Linked DNA regions of Homo sapiens: all the other regions are linked to region 1. The links are contacts of gene promoters, found by promoter capture Hi-C in blood cells and fetal thymus (Javierre and others, 2016). All regions are on one chromosome and are shown on one strand. Each heading gives the region's core, a stretch centred on a gene start or on the middle of the fragment in contact. The rest is flanking DNA. Distances are from core to core; before and after follow the strand shown.

The links. The method cuts DNA at HindIII sites, captures the fragments that hold promoters and counts their contacts. A CHiCAGO score of 5 or more calls a contact.
Region 2: a contact is called between a fragment that was not itself captured here and the fragment with the promoter of SLAMF1 in region 1, in 3 of 17 cell types (activated CD4 T cells, fetal thymus and naive B cells). The highest score is 6.6, in activated CD4 T cells.
Region 3: a contact is called between a fragment that was not itself captured here and the fragment with the promoter of SLAMF1 in region 1, in 7 of 17 cell types (total B cells, total CD8 T cells, naive CD8 T cells and 4 more). The highest score is 8.0, in total B cells.

What each region holds. Positions count from the first base shown.
Region 1 is chr1:160,644,646-160,649,572 of GRCh38, forward strand. SLAMF1 (signaling lymphocytic activation molecule family member 1) reads right to left here and starts at 2,399. Exons shown (of 7, transcript NM_003037.5): 1 at 2,225-2,399. The coding sequence starts at 2,300. LOC107985220 (a long non-coding RNA gene) reads left to right here and starts at 2,364. Exons shown (of 2, transcript XR_001738266.2): 1 at 2,364-2,690; 2 at 2,828-4,927. RefSeq lists enhancers at 2,231-2,440, 2,481-2,530. The HindIII fragment of the contact is 11,196 bases long and covers 2,371-4,927 here.
Region 2 is chr1:160,374,126-160,379,052 of GRCh38, forward strand. LOC105371466 (a long non-coding RNA gene) reads right to left here. Exons shown (of 4, transcript XR_007066686.1): 4 at 3,290-3,935. Among named protein-coding and RNA genes, the nearest start is that of NHLH1, 9.5 kb to the left of the region's middle. RefSeq lists an enhancer at 2,037-2,086. The HindIII fragment of the contact is 2,331 bases long and covers 971-3,301 here.
Region 3 is chr1:160,905,645-160,910,571 of GRCh38, forward strand. No RefSeq gene overlaps it. Among named protein-coding and RNA genes, the nearest start is that of ITLN1, 23 kb to the left of the region's middle. The HindIII fragment of the contact is 675 bases long and covers 1,619-2,293 here.

The DNA.
Region 1 (4,927 bases), core at 1,149-3,648:
TGGGATCATTCAAAGTCAAATCTATGGATTAAACCAATTAGCCCTGATACTCTGATTTCCAGTCCAGTGAGGGAGACAGTGAAAGTGACAGCATCACATCACAGTATTAATATTTTTGAGAAATAGAAGTGCCTAGATTGACATCTTGGGATAGAATGGGCCACTGAACACGCAAGGTTAGGCCAAGTCTAGAACCCACGCACTTGTCCCTCACCTTCCCCCAAAGTGTGTGAAGGGGGTGCAGAGGAACTGCATGGAGGAATAAAAAAAACTCATTGACATAAGGTCATCAATTATAACAAATGTACCATCCTGGTGGGGGATATTGATAATAGGGGAGGCTATGTATGTATGGGGCAGAGGGCATATGGGAAATCTCTGTTCTTTCTGCCCAACTTTGCTGTGAACCTAAAACTGCTCTAAAAAATAAAGTCTATTAAAACAAATCTCATCGGGGGAAATGAAAAATTCACTTTACTTGGGGAAGGGACATGTGGACTTTTTGATTTTTACAATTCTGACTGGGAATTAGAAGTTGAGCTGAGTAGAAATGAGAATGGGAGTGGATGCCAGTTTTACAAGAATCAAGCTTCTTGCTTGGGCAAATCTGTCATGACTAACCTGCCCCATTTGCAAAGCATTTCTGTCTGGGTTTTATTGGGGCTTCACAAAAGGGTGTGTATTTAAAAATAAAAACACTGAAAAACTTTTGTGAAGATTCAAAGAAGAAAACATGCAATGAAGTGAGCAGCCTCCGATTGGATAGACTTGCCTTGTGGGGCTGGGTTGCTTCTCCCTGACCGGCGACTTCCAAAGCCTCAATAAGACGAGCTATTGGTCAGCAGTGCCTAAGATGCTATGGGCCAGGCTGGCCAAGAGGCTAGCAAGCACAGAGATGGAAAAGTCCAGTTCACAGTTCAGCACCATCACTCCATCACACCTTACAGTCACCAAGAGGTGCTCCAGAAATGGTGCAGTCACAAATTGGTTGCAACAACGGAGGCTTGGCTTTCCCTGTGACCACTTAAAGTGGCTCGATTTGGTTTTCTGAGCCCCGAGCTCAGTTCTTCCTCCCCTAGACCTTGGGAAGTACGAGCCATGGATCTGCAGATTCCAAAAGAAAGTGGGCTGAGCAAGCCCTGTTCGTCTGGCTGTCTGGTAAAAGACACATCCATTGTGCAGCACCCCCACATCCCTGGCATATCACGGTGCTTTTCCTGGAAAAGTCCATATTGGATTTGCGGTCTTGAAAACCCCAAGCTTAAAACACCCTGGGCCTCAGGATTTCCCCCCGTGTCCGTAATGCCACCTCTTCTACTCCAGGCTACCTCCCACAGTCTAAACAAATAAGCAGAAGGAGATTCTCACCCCACTCACACAGGCAGTCCAAAGTCCACTTCTTGCTTGGCTTTTTCTTTCTCAAATACCTTTTCTCATAGCCCTGATACTTCTAAACAGAAAGCAATAGCCTGCCTTGGGAAGAAGATAGACAGAAAGACAGGAACAGAGTCCAGATCCAAAGGTAGCTCTTGTCTGGCCTTCCTGCTGGAGCTACTCTCTGAGGGTTCCCAATTTGCATTTCCCACATACTGTAACCAGCCCTAGCCTTCAGAAATCCCAACTTCTTCCCTCTTGCTTTCTTGGACCTTCTCTTCCAAGAAAATACACACCAGTATGACCGCACTGTGGCCACTGCTGGTTCTCAGCCAAAAGCCTGGAGTTTTCACTTCTACTCTCTCTTCCCACTCTAGCCAATGCTTTCTGTTGACCCATGCTCCTGGTTTGTCAGCCTGCATGTGCACAGATTCCCTCCCAGGGCAGGGATGTAGGGCAAATCTTCTCCCAGAGCTCAGTCCATCCAGCTCAGTCTCTCTAGGCTGGGTCTTTGCCAGAAGATGCCCATGTAAAACCAACCACTCAAGCAAGACTTCTACCAGGGCCTGTCACCCTAAGACTGGTCAGAAAAGTGACTGGAGCCTTTGGCTTAGAGCCCCTCATTTCCTTGGAAACTGGGGTTGGTGGGGCTGAGTCTTGGAAACCCAAGGGCCCAGGAACTTATAATGTTCCTTCCTCTTTGAAAGAGGCAGTTGAAACTGACAGCCAGTCCCTAAGGAAGAGTGACCAAACACAATACCCAGCCCTGCACCTTCTCTCCATCCACGAAGATACGCTGATTCCTGGCAGCTAACATGGGACTCAAACCATCAGGCAGATGAACACTCACCTGTTCCGTAGCTTGCCCCAAAAGCCAGGGAGAGAAACAGCACGAAGGTCAAGGAGAGGAGCCCCTTGGGATCCATCAGCCAATGAGGAGAAGGAAGGGATCCTGGCCGGAGCCTGGCAGCTGCTCACAGATGCCAGGCAGAAGCAAGCTTCGTGTCATGCAGCAGAGGCTGTCTGATTTATGTATCAGGAACCAGCAGGTTCCTGAACCCGCTTCCTGTATCACTGGGACTTTTTCTGCTTGTGTCTTGAGGATTGCTCATCTCCCATGAGGCTTTAAATCACTTTTTTGTTCTCAAGAAGCAGGCTTCTCAAGAAGCCAGGCACTTAGCCTATGGGAGCCAGGAAAGGGGGTGTGTAGTCACCTCGGCCAAAACCCGGCTTTGGGCAGAAACATGCGCCCCAGCTTCTTTCCTTAGCTGTCTCCAGGAACCGGATGTTGCAGATTCTCTGAGCAGTTCTCTCCGGTAAGTCTTCTTGGATTGCAAAGAAAAGATGTTTCATTGGATCACTCCTCAAATTTGGCAGTTCACAGCTGAACTTAGATAACTGCATTTTGATGAGCTAATAGACCTCTTACTTCTGTTTTATTTCATAATTTCAGATGACACCTCAACATGCAGTCTGGTGCAGGTGCCACTGTCACACAGAGATGGGAAGGGCATGTGCGGGTCACTTGGAAGAAACCCTGTGACCCCGATGAGTGCAATGTGGTATAATTTAGTAGCCCATGCTCCTAGTTTGTCTTCTTGCATGTGTGTGGATTCCCTCCCAGGCAGGGATGTAGGACAAATCTATCCCAGAGCTCCATCCTTCCAGCTCAGTCTCCTTGTTGTGTGTGTGTTTTCTCCTCTAATTTTTAACGTCTGTGGGTACATAGTAGATATACATATATGTGTGTGTGTGTGTGTGTGTGTGTGTGTGTGTGTGTGTGTGTGTATGTATATATATATGTATGGGGTATGCATATATTTGTATGGGGTATATGAGATATGTTGATAGAGGCATGCAATATGTAATAATCACACAGGGTAAATGGGATATCCATCACCTCAAATATTTATCCTTTGTGTTACAAACAGTGCAATTATATTTTTATTTTTAAATGTGCAATTAAATTATTATTGACTATAGTCACACTGTTGTATTATCAAATACTAGTTCTTATTCATTCTTTCTATTTTTTTGTACCCATTAACCATCCCCACTTCTTCCCCAACCCCCACTACCCTTCAGCCTCTGGTAACCATCCTTCTACTCTCTATGCCCACAAGTTCAATTGTTTTAATTTTTACCTCTCACAAGCAAGTGAGAACGTGCAAAGTTTGTCTGTCTGTGCCTGGCTTATTTCACGTAACATAATGATCTTCAATTCCATCCATGTCATTGTGAATGACAGGATCTAATTCTTTTTTAGCTGAATAGTACTTCATTGTGTATATGTACCACATTTTCTTTATCCACTCATCGGTGATAGACGCTTAGGTCGCTTCCAACCTTGGCTATTGTGAATAGTGCTGTAATAAACATGGGAGTACAGATATCTCTTCAATATACTGATTTCTTTTCTTTTAGGTGTATACCTACCAGTGAGATTGTGGATCATATGGTAGCTCTATTTTTAGTTTTTTGAGGAACCTTCAAACCATTCTCCACAGTGGTTGTACTAACTTATATTCCCAACAACAGTGTACAAGGGTACTTTTTCTCCACATCCTTGTCAGCATTTGTTATTACCTGTCTTTTGGATAAAAGCCATTTTAATTTAATTGGGGCTGTGTTGTATTCTGGGAGTTGCCTTTATTTTGGAGTTTGTGTCTAACTTTTCATTGAGGAGAAGGAACTAGTATTGGCAGAAGGAGGATCCCGCCCTTTTTCATGAGTTAAACTATAAGAATGGGATACTGGAAGTGTAACCAATGCTCACAGGGAGACTTGAAAGAGTAGGGAAGTGTTTTTAGAGTCCATTGTAACAGGTCATAGGCACTCTCTGATGGGCCTCCCCATGGGGATCAGGTAATAAAAGCTGGTGAGATATGTGAACTTTATCCTCACTGTTTTCTTCCTTCCTTTCCCCAGCACTCAACTGTCCTCCTCACAACTATTCCCAGTGGTGTGTGCTCGAGTCAGCATGTACCAACTCATAAAATTGTTAAATTTTCAGGAATCTGGATGGGCACAGTGGCACGCCTGTAACCCCACCATTTGTGGAGGCCTAGGTGGGAGAATTTTTGAGGCCAAGAGTTTGAAAATAGTCTGGGCGATAGAGTGAGACCTCATGTCTACAAACAATTTTTTTTAATAAAAATAAAAAATAGATTTTCAGGAATCTTGTGAGGTGCTTGATGAACATGGCCATTATTAAACATATAAAATTAAATTAAATTATATAAACTTACAGTTAAGCTGGGCATGGTGGTACATGCCTGTAGTCCCAGGTACTTGAGAGGCTGAAGCATGAGGACCCCTTGAGCCCAAGAGTTTGAGGCTGTAGTATCTTTATAGCAGTGTGAAAACGGACTATCATGATCATGCCTGTTGGTGTGGTTTGCCGCTGTGTCCCCACCCAAATTTTATCTCGAATTGTAATCCCCATAATCCCCAAGTGTTGAGAAAGGGACAAGGTGGGAGGTGATTGGATCATGGGGGCAGTTTCCCCTCCATGCCGGTCTTAAGACAGTGAGTGAGTTCTCACAAGATTGGA
Region 2 (4,927 bases), core at 886-3,385, 270 kb before region 1:
GTCTTGCTCTATTGCCCAGGCTGGAGTGCAGTGGCGGGATCTTGGCCCACTGCAACATCCACCTCCCCATTCAAGCCATTCTCGTGGTTCAGCCTCCTGAGTAGCTGGGACTACAGGCGCCCGCTGTCATGCCCGGCTAATTTTTGTGTTTTTAGTAGAGATGGGTTTTCGCCATGTTGGTCAGACTGGTCTCTAACTCCTGGCCTGAAGTGATCCTGCTGCCTTGGCCTCCTAAAATACTGGGATTACAGGCATGAATCACCATGCCCAGCTATGGGTTTTCATCTTTGATGAACAAAGAATGACATAAGCAGCATGAAGGGCTTGAGTTAGACCTAGGGAGGAGCTTCCATACAGGAGGACTTGACATCTTCCCCTTCCCATGTGAGTTAAATGACATGTGCTCTGCCCAGAGCCTGGCAAAAGGGAAGGCTGAACTGAGATCAGGGAGAACTTCAGGACTCCAAAGGGCCAGAGTTGGACGGGAACACAGAAATCACTGAATCCAACAACTTTATTTCAAAGGCAGGTAAACTACTGTCCAGACAGGTGACGTGACTCACCCATGATGATGGCCTGGGATTAGAAGCCAAGTCTTCCATTCCTGGCCCTGAGAGCTTTGTGCTTCTCTGTGCTCAGCAGCCACAGTCCTCTGGGCTCCCTGCCTCCCTCTCTTGTCTCTTTGCCTGGGCTGGAGAGCAGAAGGGCTTAGGGGGCCCCTCCCCTCAGGGATCCCTGAGGGCCTGGAGGTGGTGAGAGGGGGAAGCTGCAGCTGTTCTACTGCTAGCTCCGAATTTCTTCAGATAATCAATTGGCCTCGCTGCCGCTGTCGCTCTTGTTGCTCTTCTCACTCTGGGAAGGACAGGAGAAGGAGGTGGAGAGTGGGAAGAGGAGGGAGCAGGGGACCAGGCACTGGGGGAGGAGGGAGAGGGCAGGGAGATGGAAGTCCCTGGGCTGAGGGGAAAGTGAAAGCTTTGGGGCTAGCAGATAGGGAGGATGGGGAAAAGGGATTGTTAGAAGAGGATCTGCTCTGCATCCCTCATTCCACATCCCTCTAAACCCAACTCGTGGGTGGTGGGGTGGGGGAGGGGCAGTTAGGAGGACCCCAGAATGGGACTCTTGCACTTCACCCCTGCTTCCTTACTCCCCTTGCCAAGTATCCCATGCATGGCCATAGCTCCCCCAGCTGTCCATGCCCTCTTCCAGTCCTAGTGACCACAGGTGCCTGACCCTCCAGTCCTGTCTTCATCAACGCCCTGTCCTGTAACTCAGCAAACCCATCACCAGTGACAGAGCAGAAGTCAAGGCCCCAGGGGCTGGGTGGGGGTTGCCTAAAATCTCTCTCTCTCTCTCTCTCTCTCTCTCTCTCACACACACACACACACACACGCGCACACACACACACTGTCATAGGCTGCCAGGCATATGGCCTCTTTGTGCCCACACAATGGAGGCCCTGTCTGTGCCCTTTCCCAAGTCTGGGCACAGTGTGGAGGGTGCTCCGCTTCCTCATTCCACCCACCTCCCTTCCCTCTCCACCCCCAGTGCAGGCCCTGTCTTCTTTGCCTTTGCTTCTTCCTCTTTCTGGAAAGCCCTTTCTACCACCCAGTTCCTTTATCTTTCTGCTTTCTTCTTGTGTTCTTTCCTGAGCTTTTGACCTCTCATTGGATGAGGATTATGGGCAGAAGAAAGAGGCTCACAGTGCTGGGATGTCAGCGCAGGGAGGAGAAGGGAGCAAGCAGAGATGAGCCTGAAAGGCTGAGAGGGAGTGGAAGAAGGGAGGCAGTGGTGGCAGTGCAGCAACACTGTGCTAGAGGGGAGAAAGCCCACACCCGGCAGCCAGAGGTCCCGTGTCCCTGCTCTGTCTCCACCTTTCCCCTTTGTGCCACAGTGAGCAAACCGCATGCCCTCCCTGAGCAACAGCTTTTTCATATGGAAAGCAGGAAAGACAACAAGACCCACCGGGGTGTGATGAGGATTAAATGAGATCATCGTGAAAGTGTTCAACACCGGAAACGCTCATCAGATGCTATCTCAGGGGCAGTAAGTAGCAGGGTCAACTGTACTGTCATACAGTTTGTGCACTTTACAAAGCACCAGGCTAAGGGCAGTGCAGGGGCCTGACACCCAACCCCACTTCTACTAGACCAGCTGTGCACCAGGATGCAAGCATCCCCTGAGAGGTGGCCCTGGAACTGAGCCCCTCATGTGGGTTCCTGAGCATTGGTCAGGAGTCCAGATGAAAACTCCGAAGTCCTGACCACCTTGGGAACCAAGACAGAATGGAAAGGGACAAGAGGCTAAGGGGAATGTCTCTCCCTGAGGGGGAAATTCCTGAGCTTAGTCTTCTCTGAGCAAATAGACAATCCATGAGATCTACTAAACTAAGGATGGAGAAACTGCAGCTGAGGAGAAGAAGGGGGCTGAAGAAGCAGAAAAAAAAGAGGGAGACATGGATCGAGGGTGTGATCAGAGCAATGTGTTGGTCTGAGGACCCTTTTCTGGTTCCCTCGTCCTCCATTCCCTCCCTTCAGCAAGTTGAAGGCTGATTTGATTATTGCTTGTTGAACACTGTCCCCTGCTGGCTACTAGCAGAAACATTTTCCCTCTTCCCTATCCCTAGCTAGGAGCTGCTGAGAGCCTGAAAAAGAGAAGAAATGACCTGACTGGGGACAAAGGACGAAGGAATTGCAATTCTGCAATCTGGAATTCTCTACTTGTCAGAGATTTCTGGAAGGTGAAGGAGGCTTGAAGGCTGACTAGGGGTAAACAGAGTTTAGAATTCATAGGTGGTTCATTTACATATATTATGGCCTATAATTTTCAGATTGATTTTTTTCTGGTCTGTGTCTGTTTCATGTATTGTGTGTCTGTGTTATGTGTGTGTTCTGTATCTGGGCGTGCTTACCTGATTCTGTGGTTTTTGAACACGTGTATATCTGTGTACTTTTTTGTGTGTGTGCTCTTTTTAATATAGGAGTCTGAGTGACAGCTGGCAGGTATGGAGCAAGGAGAGGGAGCTGTCGAATTTCCTCTTTCCTAGAAGCCCGTTCTCCCCTTGAAGTTTTACCTTTGTCTCCCAGCTCCATGAGCTATAACCTATGGCTATTTATAGGTTACAGGTTTTGTTCTGGCTCCTGCCCCTCTTTGGACATCCCAAGCTCAGAGCCTTGATTCGCTCTAACCTGGGACTCTTGGGCCTCCCAAGCAGGGTCTCCAGTGTGGTTCCCAAGTGAGAATCTCTACTGTCTATGTCCCTTTTATCCTTTCTAGCATTAAACTCCAGCCTCCTTCTTTTATAAGCTTGTAGCTACCTCTTTCATTGGTTGATTTCAATTTATTCAGTGCAGCATGCCTTTATGGAATAGCCAATGTATACCGGGCACTGTTCTGGATTCTGAAATACAGGATCAGGCCCTCCCCACCACCTACTTGGGAGGGAGTATGGGAGACAGGCATGTAAACATATCAGTTTCCCAACAGTGAGAGGCATCTGCAAGGAAGCGAGTGATTACCTGAGAGAGGGTGTTGGTGAGGAAGGCAGCCGGTAAACTCTGAGCTGGGTTTTGAAGACCATGAGATACGTACAGTGAATTCTGTGGTGTGCTCCACTCACTTCTCCAGCTGTGGAAGTGTTGACTCACAGCTGAGTCCCTCTCCAGGAATTGCCTTTGGAGGAAGAAAGCCGCCTTGCCTGAGGTGTTGCTCTTTCCCTAGGGCAATGACTGGTTGATGTGGGGTTACAAAGTTATCCCAGCTTGAGAGCCCCCATGGGATGGACAGAAGCCTCTGTTGCCATTGCATTGCTTTTCAGTTTCTCTCTCGGCTTATTGCAGCTTCCCTCACACCTCACAGGTGTTCTCAAGAACTCTCCTGCTGGCACTCTCCTGTATACGATCTCAGAGTTCAGGAATCCACTTCCCAGGGAACCCCACCTACAAAGGAAAGGCACTGTAGGTATGAAGGCATGGAACCCTGAGAAGCTCTGGTGAGCAAGAGCACACTATTAGCAGTGTGGTATTGTTGGGACATTAAGTGCAAGGGGCTGGTGGGACAGGAAAGTGACGGAATGGTCTGGAGAGGTAAGCAGGGGCCAGGTCAGGAGAAGCATAATAGGGAGTGTGTGCTTGGCCACACAGTGATGGGAAACCAATGAACATTCTCTAGTGGGGTAGATAAACACTATCATCAGATGTACACTTTAGAAATATCACTTTCAGAACATTTCTTTCTTTCTTTCTTTCTTTCTTTCTTTTTTTTTTTTTTAAGAGAGAGTCTTGCTCTGTCACCCAGGCTGGAGTGCAGTGGTGCAATCTCGGTTCACTGTAACCTCTGCCTCTGGGTTCAAGTCATTCTCCTGCCTCAGCCTCCTAAGTAGCTGGGATTATAGGTGTGCACCAACACACCCGGCTAATTTTTTATTTATTTATTTTTTGAGATGGAGTCTTGCTCTGTCGCCAGGCTGAAGTACAGTGGGGTGATCTTGGCTCACTGCAATCACCGTCTCCTGGGTTCAAGCAATTCCCCTGCCTCAGCCTCTCAAGTAGCTGGGAGCACAGGCGGGCACCACCACGCCCGACTAATTTTTTGTACTTTAGTAGAGACGGGGTTTCACCCTGTTGGGCCAGGCTGGTCTCGATCTCCTGACCTCAAATGATCTGCCTGCCTCGGCCTCCCAAAGTGCTGGGATTAGAGGTGAGAGCCACCACGCCTGGCCACTTTTAGGACATTTCTGATCATAGCTGCGTAAAGGTAAGCTCTGTGCAGGGAACAGTTTTAGGAGGCTATCGCAAAGTCAGCTGCAAGAAGCTGAGGGTCTGTATTTAGGTAGCGGCAGTAGGAATGGGGAAGGGAGGACAGATTTAGGAAGCTATTTAAATGGTAGATTCAACAGGATGTCGTGATTCATTAAATGTGGCAGGCTAGA
Region 3 (4,927 bases), core at 706-3,205, 260 kb after region 1:
TTAGAGTTATGGGAGGAGGTGGATCACTGCCTGAAAACAGGATTTAGGCAGGGCCATTTTACTAAGGTTATCATTTTGACCACCTGGGCCCTGGTACGCTCTGCATTGTACCCTCTTTATATGCCAGATTGCGGTGAGTCAGACTGCCCATTAGCTCCACCTGAAGGGAATTCAGGAGATTTAAAGAAAAACAGGAACCAGAACAACAGGGAGGGGCTCCTCTCCCTACTTCATTCCCTTCCGTAGGGCATAAGGAGGACACTTTCTAGTGATGATGAGGACAGACCGGAGCTTTTTCCTCCCCCAATAGAAAAGCCATTGCCCTCCTTTCCTCCACCCCTAAAAAAATCCACATCTATTGGCCCTGTTCAGGCTACAGTGCCTCCCATCCCCCTGGAGGAGATTGGAGGCCACCCAAGGGATGGACGGTTCTTGGATAAGACCCCCTGTCAGTGAACATCTATATTGTCACGCACGTCCGTGTGAAGAGACCACCAAACAGGCTTATGTGAGCAATAAAGCTTTTTAATCACCTGGGTGCAGGCGGGCTGAGTCTGAAAAGAGAGTCAGCAAAAGGTGGTGGGATTATCATTAGTTCTTATAGGTTTGGGATAGGCATACAAAGTACATTCCCAAGGGCGGGGAGAATATTACAAAGTACCTTCCTAAGGGCAGGGGAGAATATATCATATCAGTTAGGGTGGGGCAGGAACAAATCACAATGGTGGAATGCCATCAGTTTAGCCTATTTTCACTTCTTTTGTGGATCTTCAGTTGCTTCAGGCCATCTGGATGTATACGTGCAGGTCACAGGGGATATGTTGGCTTAGCTTGGGCTCAGAGGCCTGACATATATGATCAGGTGAACGCGTTCTCAGTGACGACTCCTCATCAAACTTCCCTAGTAGAGGGGTGCCTCCAGGAGGGACTTAAAAAGGGAGACTCTTAGGCACTTTTTGGCGCATTCCCTGTCATTGTTCAAAATGATAGGAGACGGCATGAGAGTTTGCCTTTTACTGTTTTTAAAGAGATAAAGAAAAGTATCTGTGAAAATGGTGTACATTCACCCTTTACCCAGGGGATGATTGAGGCTCTGGGAAATGGCTATAAGATGACTCCGCATGATTGGAAAACTTTAGTAAAAGTTTTGGTTTCAGCTGCAGAATATACTGTGCGGTGGAGTGAGTACAGTGATCTATCCATGCAGCAGCCCTTGCAAAATTTGGATAATAATATCCCAACACAGCTTGATATGCTATTGGGACCAGGTCCTTTTGCTTGAGCTCAGGCTCAAGCTCAAATAAACAGCCATCTATTTCCACAATGCTTGCAGCTAGCAATACAGGCATAGAAGAGGATACCCACGGGACAATCCCAGGGTTCCTTTATAACAGTTAAACAGAGTGCCACAGAAACATTCCTTTATAACAGTTAAACAGAGTGCCACAGAAACATACGTTGAATTTATCAACTGATTGCAAGCTGCACGTAGTGACCAACATCACATCAGCAGAGCTATAAAAAAACTCTGCTATTCAAATCCACTGCACACGGAATAAATCAGAAGATAAAATAAAAGTCTGTCAAAATTCATACAACTTGTGAGTGAGTTCTAAAAAGCTTAGTTTAGAAGGGCTAGAGAAAGAAAAACTTCAATGGGGCCCAAATCAGAATGCTTGTAATGAAACCCAGTCTCCAGGAAAACAACACTCACATGTGTTCAATCATATAAAATGATTTGTAACATCTCTAATTAGGTGAATCAACTAGAAACAAACTCACTAGTCAAAATAAATTTTTAAAGTATCTTGTAACCTATATTTTACTTTTCTGAGTATATTAAGGGGCTGCCAGCCCAGAGATATACTTAAGATATAGGCAAAAAATCCCCAGGCCTTTACACAAAAGATTTCCACTTTCAAACCAATGTCAGTGGACATTGATAAAAGTATAGCAGCATCCTCTACTAAGGTGATTTCATTTATTCCCTGCAACCCACTAATAAATATCCCACTTCTCCCAAACAGTATTTAAGCTCCTAGCTAAGCAAAAAACTATTGTCTATTAGCATTCAACTGAAGAAAAGAAAGATAAAATATTGTCTTGTTTCCATCACTGTATTACTTGGGCAACATAATTACATAATTCTTACCCTAAGAGAAAGCCTTCATATTTTTTTAAAAGTCTTTTCAAATAAAATCTTCTTATGTTTTAAACAATATAAAATACAAACTTTCACTTTATTTATTGTAAATTATAAAGAGATCATTGTCTTAATATATTGTTAGCTTCAAGCTTCCTAAAATATAAAAACATTGTTGTCTAAAGTCACATATTAACACTAAGCTCCGTGGTTTACAGAATCTCCTACATTTTTGCAAGCTCAAGCTGATCATTCCTTTTTTTATCAGAACAACCACAGTCTTAAACAACAGTTTTATTTGGCGCTCACTCAAGCTCGCATGATTATTAAAACCTGTCCTGACTGCCAATGGCATTCGCTCTCCCCTTTTTCGTTAGGACTTGGTGCCAACCCACGAGGTCTGGTGCCTAATGCTATCTGGCAAACTGATATTACTCAGCATCCACCCTTTAGATGCTTCAAATTTCTCCACGTTACTGTAGACACTTATACAGGCCTGAAATATGCTACTCCTCAGACTACAGAAAAAACTAAAGATGCAATTGCTCATCTTTTTAAATCTATTATGACTTTAGGCCTTCCACAAATTACAAAAACTGATAATAGACATTGCTGTCTTAGTGCTCGATTTACATATGCATTTACAACTGTGGCACATACAACACAAGACTGGCATTCCTTATAACTCAACCAGTCAGGCCAATGTTGAGCGAGCTCATCAAACTCTTAAAGTATATCTTAACAAACAAAAAAGGGGGAATATTGGGCTTTCTCCTCGAGAACAGGTAGGAGACAACTGAACCCCTCCTGATGATGAAAGACCTGTCGTTGGAGAATCGACCAGCAATGATAGCGATGACTCGGAAGGCATCTGACATTACCTGAGGGCAGCTAAAGAAATTGGATCAACAGGCAACTATCCAGCTTGTTGCCATGGGAGCCCCTGCAATTGCAGAGAATTGGTTTCTTATGTATCTGGCAGTAATTGGGGGAGCTTTTGAGAAAGTAAGACAGACATGGATGCTGGGGTGGCTGGTGATTCTCATCCTTTGCCAAGTGGGATCAGCTCAAGAACATGTTTACTGGAATCATATTCTGAATCCCACTGTTGGAAATGTTATTATGTGGTGGGATGCTGACCCGCCTTTGTCATCTAATGATACTTCTTGGATGGGAGGTCGATGGATGCCCCTGTCTTACCCCTTAACTGAAAATTTGGGATGGATTAAACTCAATGACTCCTTGACTTTATTGTCTAGCAACCCCCTTCTTTGTTTTTCTACAATAGCCCATGATAAGCACATTACTCTTATTCCTCTGGAGTATCTTTACTGTCACCTCAAAAGGGATGCCAAGCCCGCAAACTTGACCTTTATTTCTGCTGTTACCATTAATCTCACTAAGGTCTCTAATGAAGCTACACAAGTGCCTAGTCTTCTTATATGCTGTCTGAGAAGGGACTGGCAATGTAAGTTTGAGGCTGTCCAGTGTGAACCCCATGCAGACAACCTGCGCCACGACAAGGGCCTCTGCTTAATAATGGCACCTTACTTGATTGGGGTCCCCATGCTAATCTTATGTCTGCAAATCAGACTATTGGATTTGGGAGTCCTCCAATAGTTCCATCACCTGGTCAGAGTATGGGCTTTCAGGACCAATATTACAACTAAAAGGGAAGCAAGCTTTAAGCCCTGCTCATACCCAAATTTGGAGACTAGGTCTTCCCTTTTTTGAATGCGTTGTTTTGTATGGTGATTACATTTACAGCAGTGGCAACTATACCCTCTCCTTGCACAATAATGTTACTGATACAGTCCTGATTTGTACTACACACCCCTAGATAATTTTGTCTGGGCAGGGTATTCCTAACATAGAACAGAATCAATCCTTATATAGTATTACTTTCTCTTCCAGTAGTTGGTACGCTACATGCTTGTCTCATCAAAATGTTACATAGTTAAATATAACCTATGGCATGATCCTAAAATGGCATGTAGAATTGTGGCTCCCTGTAAATTTAACCCTACGGTTATTTAGAAAAGCACTATCTCATACTCAAAAAAAAGATTTTTGGCCACTTTAATTGCCTTTTTTGTCTCAGCTATTATTATACTGTGTCCGGAACTGTTTCCTTCTGGTGGGTTCTTGGTCTCGCTGACTTCAGGAGTGAAGCCACAGACCCTCGTAGTGAGTGCTACAGTTCTTAAAGATGGTGTGTCCAGAGTTTATCCCTTCAGATGTTCAGATGTGTTCGGAGTTTCTTCCTTCCGTTGGGTTCGTGGTCTGGCTAACTTCAGGAGTGAAGCTGCAGACCTTCACAGTGAGTGTTACAGCTCTTAAAGGTGGCACATCGAGTTGTCTGTTCCTCCCGGTGGGTTCGTGGTCTCACTGACCTCAGGAGTGAAGCCGCAGACCCTCGTGGTGAGTGTTACAGCTAATAAAGATAGTGTGGACCCAAAGAGTGAGCAGCAGCAATATGTATTGTGAAGAGGGAAAGAACACTTCCACACAGTGGAACAGGACCCAATGGGGTTGCGGCTGCTGGCTCTAGTGGCCAGCGTTTATTCCCTTATTTGGCCCCACCCACCTCCTGCTGATTGGTCCATTTTACAGAGTGCTGATTGGTACATTTACAAACCTTTAGCTAGACACAGAGCACTGATTGGTGTGTTTACAATCCTTTATCTAGACAGAAAAGTTCTCCAAGTCCCAACAGGACCCAGAAGCCCAGCTGGCTTCACTTCTCAATACTAGCAACTGCCGCTACTACAGCTGTTTCTCTGA